Regions from separate parts of the Homo sapiens genome. Here region 1 is linked to region 2. The links are contacts of gene promoters, found by promoter capture Hi-C in blood cells and fetal thymus (Javierre and others, 2016). All regions are on one chromosome and are shown on one strand. The core of a region is centred on a gene start or on the middle of the fragment in contact, and the rest is flanking DNA. Distances in the headings are between cores, read along the strand shown. Region 1 has its middle 23 kb from the start of ACBD3-AS1. Region 2 holds the start of MIXL1 (Mix paired-like homeobox).

What was found. Contacts are between HindIII fragments. The CHiCAGO score rates a contact against its expected background, and 5 or more counts as called.
Region 1: a fragment that was not itself captured here is called in contact with the fragment with the promoter of MIXL1 in region 2 in 4 of 17 cell types (megakaryocytes, endothelial precursors, naive B cells and 1 more); the score reaches 5.6 in megakaryocytes.

What each region holds. Positions count from the first base shown.
Region 1 is chr1:226,122,434-226,128,029 of GRCh38, forward strand. It overlaps the pseudogene LOC112268255. Among named protein-coding and RNA genes, the nearest start is that of ACBD3-AS1, 23 kb to the right of the region's middle. RefSeq lists a silencer at 1-220 and enhancers at 311-540, 2,775-3,069. The HindIII fragment of the contact is 2,467 bases long and covers 1,056-3,522 here.
Region 2 is chr1:226,221,618-226,227,525 of GRCh38, forward strand. It overlaps MIXL1 (Mix paired-like homeobox), which reads left to right and starts at 2,047. Exons shown (of 2, transcript NM_031944.3): 1 at 2,047-2,457; 2 at 3,890-5,443. The coding sequence starts at 2,065. The coding sequence ends at 4,195. LOC124904528 (a long non-coding RNA gene) reads left to right here and starts at 522. Exons shown (of 2, transcript XR_007066907.1): 1 at 522-607; 2 at 722-881. RefSeq lists an enhancer at 2,366-2,425 and a silencer at 2,471-2,765. The HindIII fragment of the contact is 11,005 bases long and covers 1-5,131 here.

The sequences.
Region 1 (5,596 bases), core at 1,039-3,538, 99 kb before region 2:
AGCCGAAGCGAGAGCGGGCAATTCGCTGCGGCGGCGGCCGCTTCCTGGGCGTCGGTCCAGTGCCCCGGCCCGGCCTGGGAGACCCGCACCAACCCCGGGAGGGAGGACGGGGCGCGGGCGCAGCCTAGGGGCCGAAGCACTGCACGCACGGCCGGCGCGGGGGCAGAGGGGAGACAGGGAAGCCTGAGCTCCGCGCTGCTGAAGGCTCCGGGGATGGGTGGGCGGCGGTGAGGTAGTCTTGCCCGGGCCCTGCCCGCGTGGGCGCTTTCTGAGTCTCTGTCGCGTGACGGAGGCGGGACCTAGGCTGTGTCTCCTGCGGGGCGAAAGCACGGAAGAGATCCGAGGGCATTTCTTGAGCCTGGCAGGAGGCCAGGGGTTTTACAGGGCAGGAAGGAACCTGGAGGAACCGAGGAGCCACGTTGTTGGTTGGAAAGAAGGGTGGCCAGGTGGGGAGGAGTCTGGCAAAGGGTCCCAGACAGCAGGAAGGGCACCTGTGAAGCCGCCCTGCCGAGTGTGTGGTAGAGGCGGGGTGAAATGAGCACTGCTCATAAAAGTGACTGTTGTGATTTTTTATGAGATGGAGTCTCGCTCTGTCGCCCAGGCTGGAGTGCAGGGGAGCAACCTCGGCTCACTGCAACCTCCGCCTCCCGGGTTCACGCCATTCTCCTGCCTCGGCCTCCCCAGTAGCTAAGATTACAAGGCGCCCGCCACCACGCCCGGCTAATTTTTTTGTAGTTTTAGTAGAGACGGGGTTTTGCCATGTTGGCCAGGCTGGTCTCAAACTCCTGAGCTCAAGTGATCCGCCCCTCTCGGCCTCCCAAAGTGCTGGGATTACATGCGTGAGCCCCCAGCCTAAAAGTGACTGTTTACTACAATAAGTACAAATAATAGGTGACCAGCACTTGTCTGCTGAGGCCCTGGGGCTGGGTGTGTTTAGGGGACCCCTCTCCTCTCCAGGCCCTCCCCAAGCCTGCCCACTGATGGGGAAGCTGCAGGGCTATCCCTCCAAGGGGAGGCCCTGCCAGGCCAGGGAAGGTCCAAGTGGGTGCTCACCAAGCTTCCTAGGTTCCCAGTTTTCTTGAAACCATCTTCCCAGCACAGTCATCTCCCGTGGTTGCCTTTAGCAAGTCACATCCCCTGACTCTTTAACATCTCGGTCCTGGCAGTTTCTTGGTATGGCACCATCTCCCTATGTGGACCACAGGTTATCTATCACACTGACCCGCTGTCCCTCACACACAGTCACTCACCTGTGACACTTGGAAAGGACTAGCTCCACAGGCCTGGCCAGGGCCCAAAGGGAGGTGGCCAGCAATCGAAATCAACCCTGATGACTAAGTAGAAAAGGAGTCCTTGGGAGTATTGTGGGGAGCTCAGGGAGCTGACCAGGAGTCTGGATGGCCACAGCCACAGCCGGGGACAGTCTTGGGAGGTGACTGTGGTCACCACCACTACTGGGCTGCAGCATCGCTGAATGCAGCCCCTGCCACAACTCCACAGGCATTGGCTGTAATGATGGGCGGGGGTGCTGGGCACCACAGCGGGGAGGGAGGGCTCCTGTCCCTGCATCTTTGCCTGGGTTAGCCAGATGCCCAGGAAGGGAGAAGGAATGCTGCCCCCTTTAGCCTTTGAGGTGGGAGGAGGGGCCCTGGCTCCCATGACAGCTCACAAAATGGGGATTGCCCCTTACTAGGAGCGGTGTGCGGATGCTGATCAGCCCACCGAATGCTCACCACTGAGGGGCTGCAGCGGCCAGGTGTGAGGGGAAGAGACTGCAGAGAGGTGACAAGGCCGTCAAAGGAGAGGAGCCACCACTGGGGAGCCTGGTGGCTCAGGAAGGCAGCTGGTGTGGGTGTGGGAGAGTCGGATCAGAAGGCCAGCACTGCTCATCATGGAGCACCTGGGAGAGCAGCAGCGACTCAGCTCCTGGCACCAGGTGAGGCAGGAAAATAGGGTCTGGAGGCAGGGAACATAAGGCTCATTCACACTTCAGCTATAACCGGAAATATCCTCTCCATAGGGCATATCAGGTAAATGACTTTGTAACTTTACTTCATCCTCTCTGTTTATATAGGGCATACCCGAAGTAACCAATGAATCCTCTAGGGGGTATTTAAACTCCCCCAAATTCTGTAACAGGGCCTTTTGAATCCTACACTCAGGCCCATTCCCACACAGTGGAGTGTACTTTCATTTTCAATAAAATCTTCATTCCTTCCTTGCTTTGTTTGTGTGTCTCTTCCAATTCTTTGTTCAAGATGCCAAGAACCTGGACACTCTCCACCTTTAACACAGGGGTTGTTTAATTTACCTTTTGCCTTAGAAATATAAAAAGATACACAGTAAAGGTGTGTAAAAGGAAAGGCCTCTTTCACCCTTACCCCACCCCCATCCCTCCCTAAAGGTCCCTGTGATTAGCTTGGTGTGTGTCCAGCCCTCCCTCTGCATTTCACACGGATATGCGAACAGTGGATCAGGCTTGGGTTTGTTTCTTCCAATAAACGGCATCATGCGGTATGTATTGTTCTTTAATGTGCTTTTGGAGACGTTTCCAATCCAGCAAACCCTTTTATCCATTTCATAATATTCCGTAGAATGCATGCTCCCCATCTTGAGGGAAGTTTGGGTTGTTTCATTCTGCTTTGTTAGGACGAATGCCTGCTTTTGTGCACACAGTTGAGTATGGGGCTGGGATTTGAGGGGAAGAGGCTCTGTTTGAGTCCCTGTTGATGTGAGGTGAAGGTGTGTTGGTCCGGCACTAAGCAGGCAGTGGACAATACATGCTGAGCTGGGTTGGGAGTGGACTCTTGGGATTCGGGACTCAAAAATAATGTACGGCCAGGTAAATTGCTGGTTTTGCTTCTGGGTCACAGGAAGGGCTGCGGTCCCCGCAGACCCAGATGCGTCCACTAGATGGCGCCAAAGCCAGTAAGGTGAGGCGCTTGTGACAGAAGCCCCGACTTGCTGCAGGAGTCTGGGCCCAGGGTCTGACTCCTGAGCTCCTAGGAGATGGATGAATATTCTTCCTGCACCGCCAGCTGCCTCGCTTAAACGTGGGGAGGCTGAAGAGGGTGCAAAGCTGGGTGAACATGAGTGATTAGACAGGATGTGCCCTGGCCAAGACAGGGAGCTGAAATTCAGTCTGTGGAACAGGCTGTGATGGCCCAGAGGAAATCCATAGGTGGGAGGAAAACTATGGACCCTGTGCTCCATATTGCCAGGACCTGCAGAGGAACTAGCTCCTGCAGAAGATGCAGGATTTGGACGGGAAGATTGGGCAAGGGTTCTGTCTACTGGGCACTGAAGGTTTGATGGGGACACTGGGATGGTCCCTGCCACCAAAGCAGCTCAAGCTCAGGCAGAGGAAATAGAAACTGGACAAATGCAGTATTTCTTATGGGCACTGCTCTAAGGAGTAATTTGGAATCCAGTAGGGTGATGTAAGTGAAGGTGCTTTGAAACCTCCCAAAGCTCTCGCCCAGGTAAGGAGGTTTGTGGTCCTTGTCACCATTTACCCAGGAAAGCTTCAAAGCAGCAGCGGCGGCGGCGGCGGCGGCGGCGGCAGCAGAATTTCCCTCCTTCCCTCCTGTTACTCTCCCAGCCTCCTCTCCCTCCTATCACTCTCCTAAGTTCAGAGCTGACCCCACTCCTCTGCTACCCATGGTGGTAGCCAGGCCTGTGCCTCTCCTAGCATCAGAAGCTGCCCCAGGCTCCCAGGACTGGAGCTCAGATCTGATTTTGAAAAACTGAATGAATGGGTGAGAGCGGTGGCTTATGCCTGTACTCCCAGCATTTTGGAAGATTGAGGTGGGTGAATTGCTTGAGCTCAGGAGTTCAAGACCAGCCTGGGCAACATGGTGAAACCCTGTCTTTACAAAAAAATACAAAAATTAGCTGGACATGGTGGCACACACCTGTAGTCCCAGCTACCTGGGAGGCTGAGGTAGGAGGATTGCTTGAACCACGGGAGACAGAGGTCGCAGTGAGCCAAGATTGTGCCACTTTACTCCAGCCTGGATGACAGAGCGAGATTGTCTCAAAAAAAAAAAAAAAAAGAAAAAAGAAAAAAAAAAAGCCGGGCACGGTGGCTTATGCCTGTAATCCCAGGACTTTGGGAGGCCAAGGCGGGTGGGTCACGAGGTCACGAGATCGAGACCATCCTGGCTAACACAGTGAAACCCCGTCTCTACTAAAAATACAAAAAATTAGCTGGGCGTGGTGGCGGGCACCTGTAGTCCCAGCTGCTCGGGAGGCTGAGGCAGAAGAATGGCATGAACCTGGGAGGTGGAGGTTGCAGTGAGCTGAGATCGCGCCACTGCACTCCAGCCTGGGCGACAGAGCAAGAATCCGTCTAAAAAAAAAAGAGAGAGTCCCAGTGCTAAAACTGAGAGTCCTGGGCAAACTGGAACAATTGATCACACAATAAAGTGGGGGTTCTTGGGCTGGGTATGGAGGCTCATGCTTATAATCTCAGTGCTTTGGGAGGCCAAGGTGGAAGGATTGCTTGAGCCCAGGGCTTCAAGACCAGCCTGGACAACATAGCAAGACCCTATCTCTACAAAAGAAAAAACAAGCACACACTTGTAGTCCCAGCTACTTGGGAGGCTGAGGCAGGAGGACTGCTTAAGGCCAGGAGGTGGAGGTTGCAATGGGCTATGATGGCACCTCTGCACTCCAGCCTCAGTGACAGAGCAAAACCTCATTTTGAAAACACACACATGAGGGGCGCTGGGAATAGCCGCTCATGTCGGCTGACGGAGCGGTGTGGGGCCGCATGCGAAGCTGCCTCCGCGCCTTCCCCGAGCGGCTGGCCGCCTGCGGGGCCGAGTAAGGACTTCTGCGCGCGGGAGTTCGAGGCCCTGCGGAGCTGCTTCGCCGCCGCGGCCAAGAAGACGCTGGAGGGAGGCTGTTAGGAGGGACTCTGAGCTTCACACCTGTCTGCTGCCGTGGTTGCAGAGCCCTAGTCCTGATGGCCCCCGGTGGCATACATTGAATGCCTAGGGCAGAAAGGAAGTGGGAATGGCGAAGATGTGACGTGCCTCGGTGTTAGATACTGTTTCTTCTTAACAAGTTGAGGCGTGGGTAGAGCAGGAACTGGTTTTCCAGCATTGTGTCCGTAAACCTGAGTCAGAATAAGATGTAACAGAAGCCAGATAAAGACTCTGTCAAATCCTGCAAAAAAAAAAAAAAGAAAAAAAAGAAAACACACACACACACACATGCACACAATGCATAAAGTGTTTCTGAAACTTTGGTGTGCATGAGAGACACCTGGGGACTTACAAAAACACAGATGGCTGGCCCCACCCTAGAGTTTCTAATTTAGTAGGTCCAGGGTGGGGTCCGGTAATTTGCATTTCTAACAAGTTTCCTGATACTGCTGCTGTTGCTCTTGGTTGGGGCCCAAACTTCCAGAACAACTGGTCTGAATGAAGGGCTGGGTCCGGGACCTGCAAGTCCCACTGTGCTGCTTGCCCCGGTACCTCCTCCTAAGTCTGGCCCAGCAGGAAACGGAGCGCGGGTCAAAGTCCTCTCACAGTCAACCAGGAGAAACCTGTGTCTTCCTGGCAGGGTGGCTGGGTGCTATGGAAACAAG
Region 2 (5,908 bases), core at 797-3,296:
CACTGCAACCTCTGCCTCCCGGGTTCAAGCAATTCTCCTGCCTCAGCCTCCTGAGTAGCTGGGATTACAGGCTTGTGCCACCACGCCCGGCTAATAATTGTTTATTTATTTATTTATTTATTTATTTATTTATTTATTTATTTTGAGACGAAGTCTCGCTCTGTCACCCAGGCTGGAGTGCAGTGGCATGATCTCAGCTCACTGCAAGCTCCACCTCCCAGGTTCACGCCATTCTCCTGCCTCAGCCTCCTGAGTAGCTGGGACTACAGGTGCCCACCACCATGCTCGGCTAATTTTTTTTTTTGTATTTTTAGTAGAGACGGGGTTTCACCGTGTTAGCCAGGATAGTCTCGATCTCCTGACCTGGTGATCCGCCCGCCTCAGCCTCCCAAAGTGCTGGGATTACAGGCATGAGCCACTGCACCTGGCCAATGGATGTTGGCTGTTTTGGAGATGCTGGGGAATTAACTTTTTTTTTTTTTTCTGAGTCAGAGTTTCACTCTTGTTGCCCAGGCTGGAGTGCAATGGCACAATCTTGGCTCACTGCAACCAAGAGAAGAGGGGGAAAGAAAGGAGAAGGGGTGGAAGGAAGATGGAAGAGCAGGAGGTAAGTATATCAGCTGCCCAGAAGGGCCTCAGGGGCTACACAGGACACAGTCCCTGCCAACCCCACCCCTTACCACAGCCAGGAGAGAATCAAGCCCAAAATTCTTCTCTGCAGCAGCTCCAAGAAAACTTTCCGCTTTGCCACCTGGAATGTCCACCCAGGATAAAAAGATCCAAGCTCTTCTGAGACTGTCTTTTGACCTTCTAGAATGCAGAGACAGGACGGGGATTGTGCCCTGAAAGATCCTCCCAATAAAGATCTCCCTTTGAGTCGACCACAGTGAGTGATCCCGGTGAAATCAGCGCTCAGGTGCTGGGGGCAAAAAGACCTGGGCCTCTGTGTTCCTCTCTTGAGTTCTTGCACTGTGGTGGGGCAGTTCCCATAGTGGACCATGGGTTTCTCTTTCAATAAGGAGAGCTCAGTGACATCCAATTCGACAGACATTCACTAAGGGGCCTAGCACCGCGCCTCACGCAGAATAGGTGTACAAAGCAGACACTCAATAAACTCAGAAAGGGAGAGGTGGGTTCCTGCTTGCTAAGACTTTATATCTAGCAGATAGAGAAACCATAACCATAGCACAAAGTAGAGAAAATGGGAGCTTTCAGAGCCCCAAGGGGCAGAGGAAAGAATGATGATTCAGGGCGCGTGGAAACTTCATGAGGTGGCTTTCATCTCCTCCCATCCAATAGACGGGTCTTAAGCATTGTTGAGTATCTCCAGAAAGGCCAAACTGCGCCGTATCCTCTGCTAATGGGGCACGTTGCCAACCCCGCCCTACCTAGGGTATCTTTATTGGTGGGCCCATGGACATTCCAGCCAGACCCCCCCACTCCCCCCACCCATTTAATCAGGAGGAATGTGCTGCCCCCTGGATCCTTTATCTTCACCCCCCTCCCCGCTTGGATTCAGGATGTGTTAGGGAGGCTTGCAGAAGACAGGGGCCGGGCTGTTTGACCAACCTGGTACAGGGTCTAGCACATAGCAGGGGTGGTAAATAAATAGCTTTGATGAGGACAGACGGGACTAGGGCAAGGCTCAAGGCCCAGGCCATGTAAGGCACAGGCCAGGCAAGGTGCTTCCGCCGCTCTTAACGGGGATTTGACCCGGAGAAGAGAGTTCTGTCGCCTGCGGCCCGCGCACCCGGGCCCCTCCGGGCTGCCCCTCCCAGGCAAATAGTCCTTCGGGGATGTGGATTGCGCCGTCCGGGCGGGTGGGCGGGGAAGAACACGGAGGGGGCCGGGACCCAAGTTCACGCCTCCCTCCTGCATCCCGCAGCCGGCGGAAGCGATTATTCCCCGGCGTCTGGCGGGGCCGGGGGCGGGCTCGCACCCGGAGGAGACACGGGTCTCCCCGAGCCCACCTTTGATCGCACCGCCCCGCCTTCCCAGCCCCTGGCCCGGGAGGGTATAAGTGCGGCCCGCGCCCCTCCGAGCGGCGCGCTGGGTTCCGGAGCGATGGCCACAGCCGAGTCCCGTGCGCTCCAGTTTGCCGAGGGCGCCGCGTTTCCAGCGTACCGGGCCCCCCACGCCGGCGGGGCGCTCCTGCCGCCCCCGAGCCCTGCGGCAGCCCTGCTCCCTGCGCCGCCCGCGGGCCCCGGCCCAGCGACCTTTGCGGGCTTCCTCGGCCGGGACCCCGGGCCGGCCCCGCCGCCCCCCGCCAGCCTGGGCTCGCCTGCGCCCCCCAAAGGCGCGGCCGCCCCGTCGGCGTCGCAGCGCCGCAAGCGCACGTCTTTCAGCGCCGAACAGCTGCAGCTGCTGGAGCTCGTCTTCCGCCGGACCCGGTACCCCGACATCCACTTGCGCGAGCGCCTGGCCGCGCTCACCCTGCTCCCCGAGTCCAGGATCCAGGTGAGGGCCCGCTGCGTTCGCAAGTGCGCGCTGGAGCGGAGGCGCTGCGGACTCTAGGTCTGGACTGCGGGCTCCTGAGGCCACACCCGGGACGTTGCAGGCACGGTGCTTCCCCTGAGGCTCTGCGTACTAGACTGAAATAGGGGGTGATATCGGCACCTGCTGCATAGGGTGGTTGCGAGGCCTGTGTGAAATAATTTAGGCCTGCACTGAACGATTTCTCTCATTATTAAATATAATAAGGGCTCCTAGGAGGCTAGCCGGTCCCCTGAAATGGCCAGAAAGTAATTCCCAGCAGGAAGATAAGAAGTTTTACACTTTTTCTTTATCCGGGAAGAAGACACAGATGAGGGGCAGTTGGGGTTTTCCTCTGGCTTTGAGCGTGAGAATGGTAGCTGAAAACGGGGAAGGCTGGCTCGCCAAGTTACCCCCATGCTACTTTCTTGGCAAGTGTTACGTTTTGGGATTAGATTTGAAAGGATGTAGCGAATTGAGATAAAGCGAGAAGCACCTGGAGCTTGTTTTCAGTTTGAAAAATCTAGTGCAAGGTGTGTTTATTTTTATTTATTTAGTTTTTATTTGAGATGGAGTTTTAACTCTTGTTGCCCAGGCTGGAGTGCAATGGCGCGATCTGGGCTCACTGCAACCTCCGCCTCCCAGGTTCAAGTGATTCTCCTGCCTCAGCCTCCCGAGTAGCTGAGATTACAGGCGCCAGCCACCACGCCCAGCTAATTTTTGTATTTTTAGTAGAGACGGGGTTTTACCATGTTGGTCAGGCTGGTTTCGAACTCCTGACCTCAGGTGATCCACCCGCCTCAAAGTGCTGGGATTACAGGCGTGAGCCACCGCGCCCGGCCGTGTTTATTATCTAAAGTAATTTAGATCAGAATCTTAGAGTTGGTAAGGAGAAGCCTGCCTTTTTGTCTGTCTGTAGCCCCGTGGTCGGTGTCCAAGCGCAGTTTTAAGTAGCAGCCCTCATTTAAACACTGGGAGAGTGGACTTGTTTTCTCTGCACCCCTGGCGGTCATACAGCTGTCAGTCTCAACAGCTGGCATGAGCAAAATACCTCCTTGATTAGTTTGACAAGGGAGTGCAGACCTTAAAAAACAGGTTTTCTTCATAATTTAATGCAGTTTTTTTCTAAGAATTCTAAGTGCTTCCATTTTTGTGACCCCATTTTTCATGAAAATTTCTCTAACTAAAGAGTAGATAGAACTAGGCATTATTCCAATGTTTCCATCTGGGAATGGGGAGGCAAGGAAAGCCAGGTGTTCTGAACTTCTAATCGTCAACCCAAGTGCTTTCTGAAGACAAGGCTCTGGAGAGGAAGCCAGGGGATGTTAAACTGGAACTTACCAGTATGAACTGTGAACATAATGTTAGCATAAAAAACTCCAACCAAAAGCAGCTTTTATTTTCTCCCCTCTTCCAGGTATGGTTCCAGAACAGGCGTGCCAAGTCTCGGCGTCAGAGTGGGAAATCCTTCCAACCTTTGGCTAGGCCGGAGATTATCCTCAACCACTGTGCTCCTGGAACTGAAACGAAATGTCTGAAGCCCCAGCTGCCTCTTGAGGTAGATGTGAACTGCCTGCCCGAACCAAACGGGGTTGGAGGGGGCATCTCTGACTCTAGCTCCCAAGGTCAGAATTTTGAAACCTGTTCCCCTCTCTCTGAAGACATTGGTTCAAAGCTGGACTCATGGGAGGAACACATCTTTTCTGCCTTTGGTAACTTTTGAGGATTCTGGGAGAATTCGGGATAAGCTCTGAGGAGCCATGACTGACAGCCTGGGAGAGACACATCAGCATACTGTCCTTTCTGACTTCCATGCTAAGGACATGTCCTTGTTAACCTTGATGATGGTTTTGACAGCACCTCTCACATTTGAAGGTACCCCGCCACTTTGTCAATGACGTTTTAAGCCCACACTCCCACCCCAGAGTTCCCGCATTCGTTTTTACCTGTGTTCTCTCCAAGCCTGCACATTCCATTGGTCTGCATCCCTATGCCTTCTTGCCAGGCCTGTTTTTAGTTTTTGGACTGGTTGTTCAGAACTCATTATTTTCTTCACAAGAATGCCTCAGCTTGACTCAGTTTCCCCTTGTGTTTGACAGCTGCCATTTTCTCCTGGTCCCTCCAAGGCTTATAATCTTAAAGTCACTCTACCCCGTCTCTTCAACCCTCATCCTAGGTTTATTACTTTTTAAAATTGGGCCTGTCATCTTCACGTTCAATCATAGCTCCAATGACTCTGCATGCAGATTATTTCGACAGCCCCCTTGCCTCTAGCTTCTCAACTACTTAAAAAAAATTACCCTCTGTGGGCCAGGTGCAGTGGCTCACTCCTGCAATCTCAGCACTTTGGGAGGCCGAGTGGGTGGATCACCTGAAGTCAGGAGTTCAAGACCAGCCTGGCCAATATGGCGAAACCCCATCTCTGCTAAAAATATAAAACTTAGCTGGGCACGGTGACGGGAGCCTGTAGTCCCAGCTACTCAGGAGGCTGAGGCAGGAGAATCACTTGAGCCTGGGAGGTGGAGGTTGCAGTGATCTAAGATCGTGCCACTGCACTTCAGCCTGGGAGACAGAGGGAGGCTCTCAAAAAAAAAAAAAAAAAAAAAAAAAATTACTCTATGGTTCTGTGGTAGCCTCCAGTTGCTACCAAATTATAAAAAGCTTTCAGTTACCCTCCCAGATAACTGATATCATCCTTAGCCTGCAGGACAGCTATGCAAATCTGAAGGTCAACTATCCACAATATATGCTTTGGTCTTAAAGTCACTCCTTTCAGTTTTGAACCAAATTCATACCTTTTGCTTTCAAAACACTCGAGGACTCCCCACCTGCCTTCTGAAGTCTGAAATTTTCTCTAAGTAATCCTGATTTTGCACCTGTTACTTCGATCACTCCATTACCCTTAGCACTTGTTATTGTACTTCCTGTGCAAGTTTTGTGGATTATTAAATGTCTTTCACAAATGTTCCAATGTAATTTCTATTTAAATGAATTCTTCTAGATAACTCCTAGTACAGTGCTTCACTCCACAATTGCTCAGTACATACTATGTGGCCATGAAAGACATTTCTAAAAGTTTCTGCAAATGTAGTTTTTAGCCAGTAATCAATATTATATCAGCAGGCCACTGAGCTGAGAAATTTAATTGGGTTAAAAACATTTTTGCTTGAATGTTTAATAATATTTTGTGAGTATTTTGGTTTTGGGAAATTTCTCTTTGCAATTTATAATTCTAAATGTATGTAAATAACCGTTTCTAAGTCAGTCTAAGATCAATTAAAATATTTTGATATTTTGAGAGTTTTCAAACTCCTTTAGAGTCAAAGGAAATGGTCTGTGTATGAGGCAACCACAGGTGAAGTTTCTTTGTAAACTGTGCTTTAAAGTAGGCTCATGGGATGCCATAGCTAGCTAGGGCCAGGACATCATGTCTTGA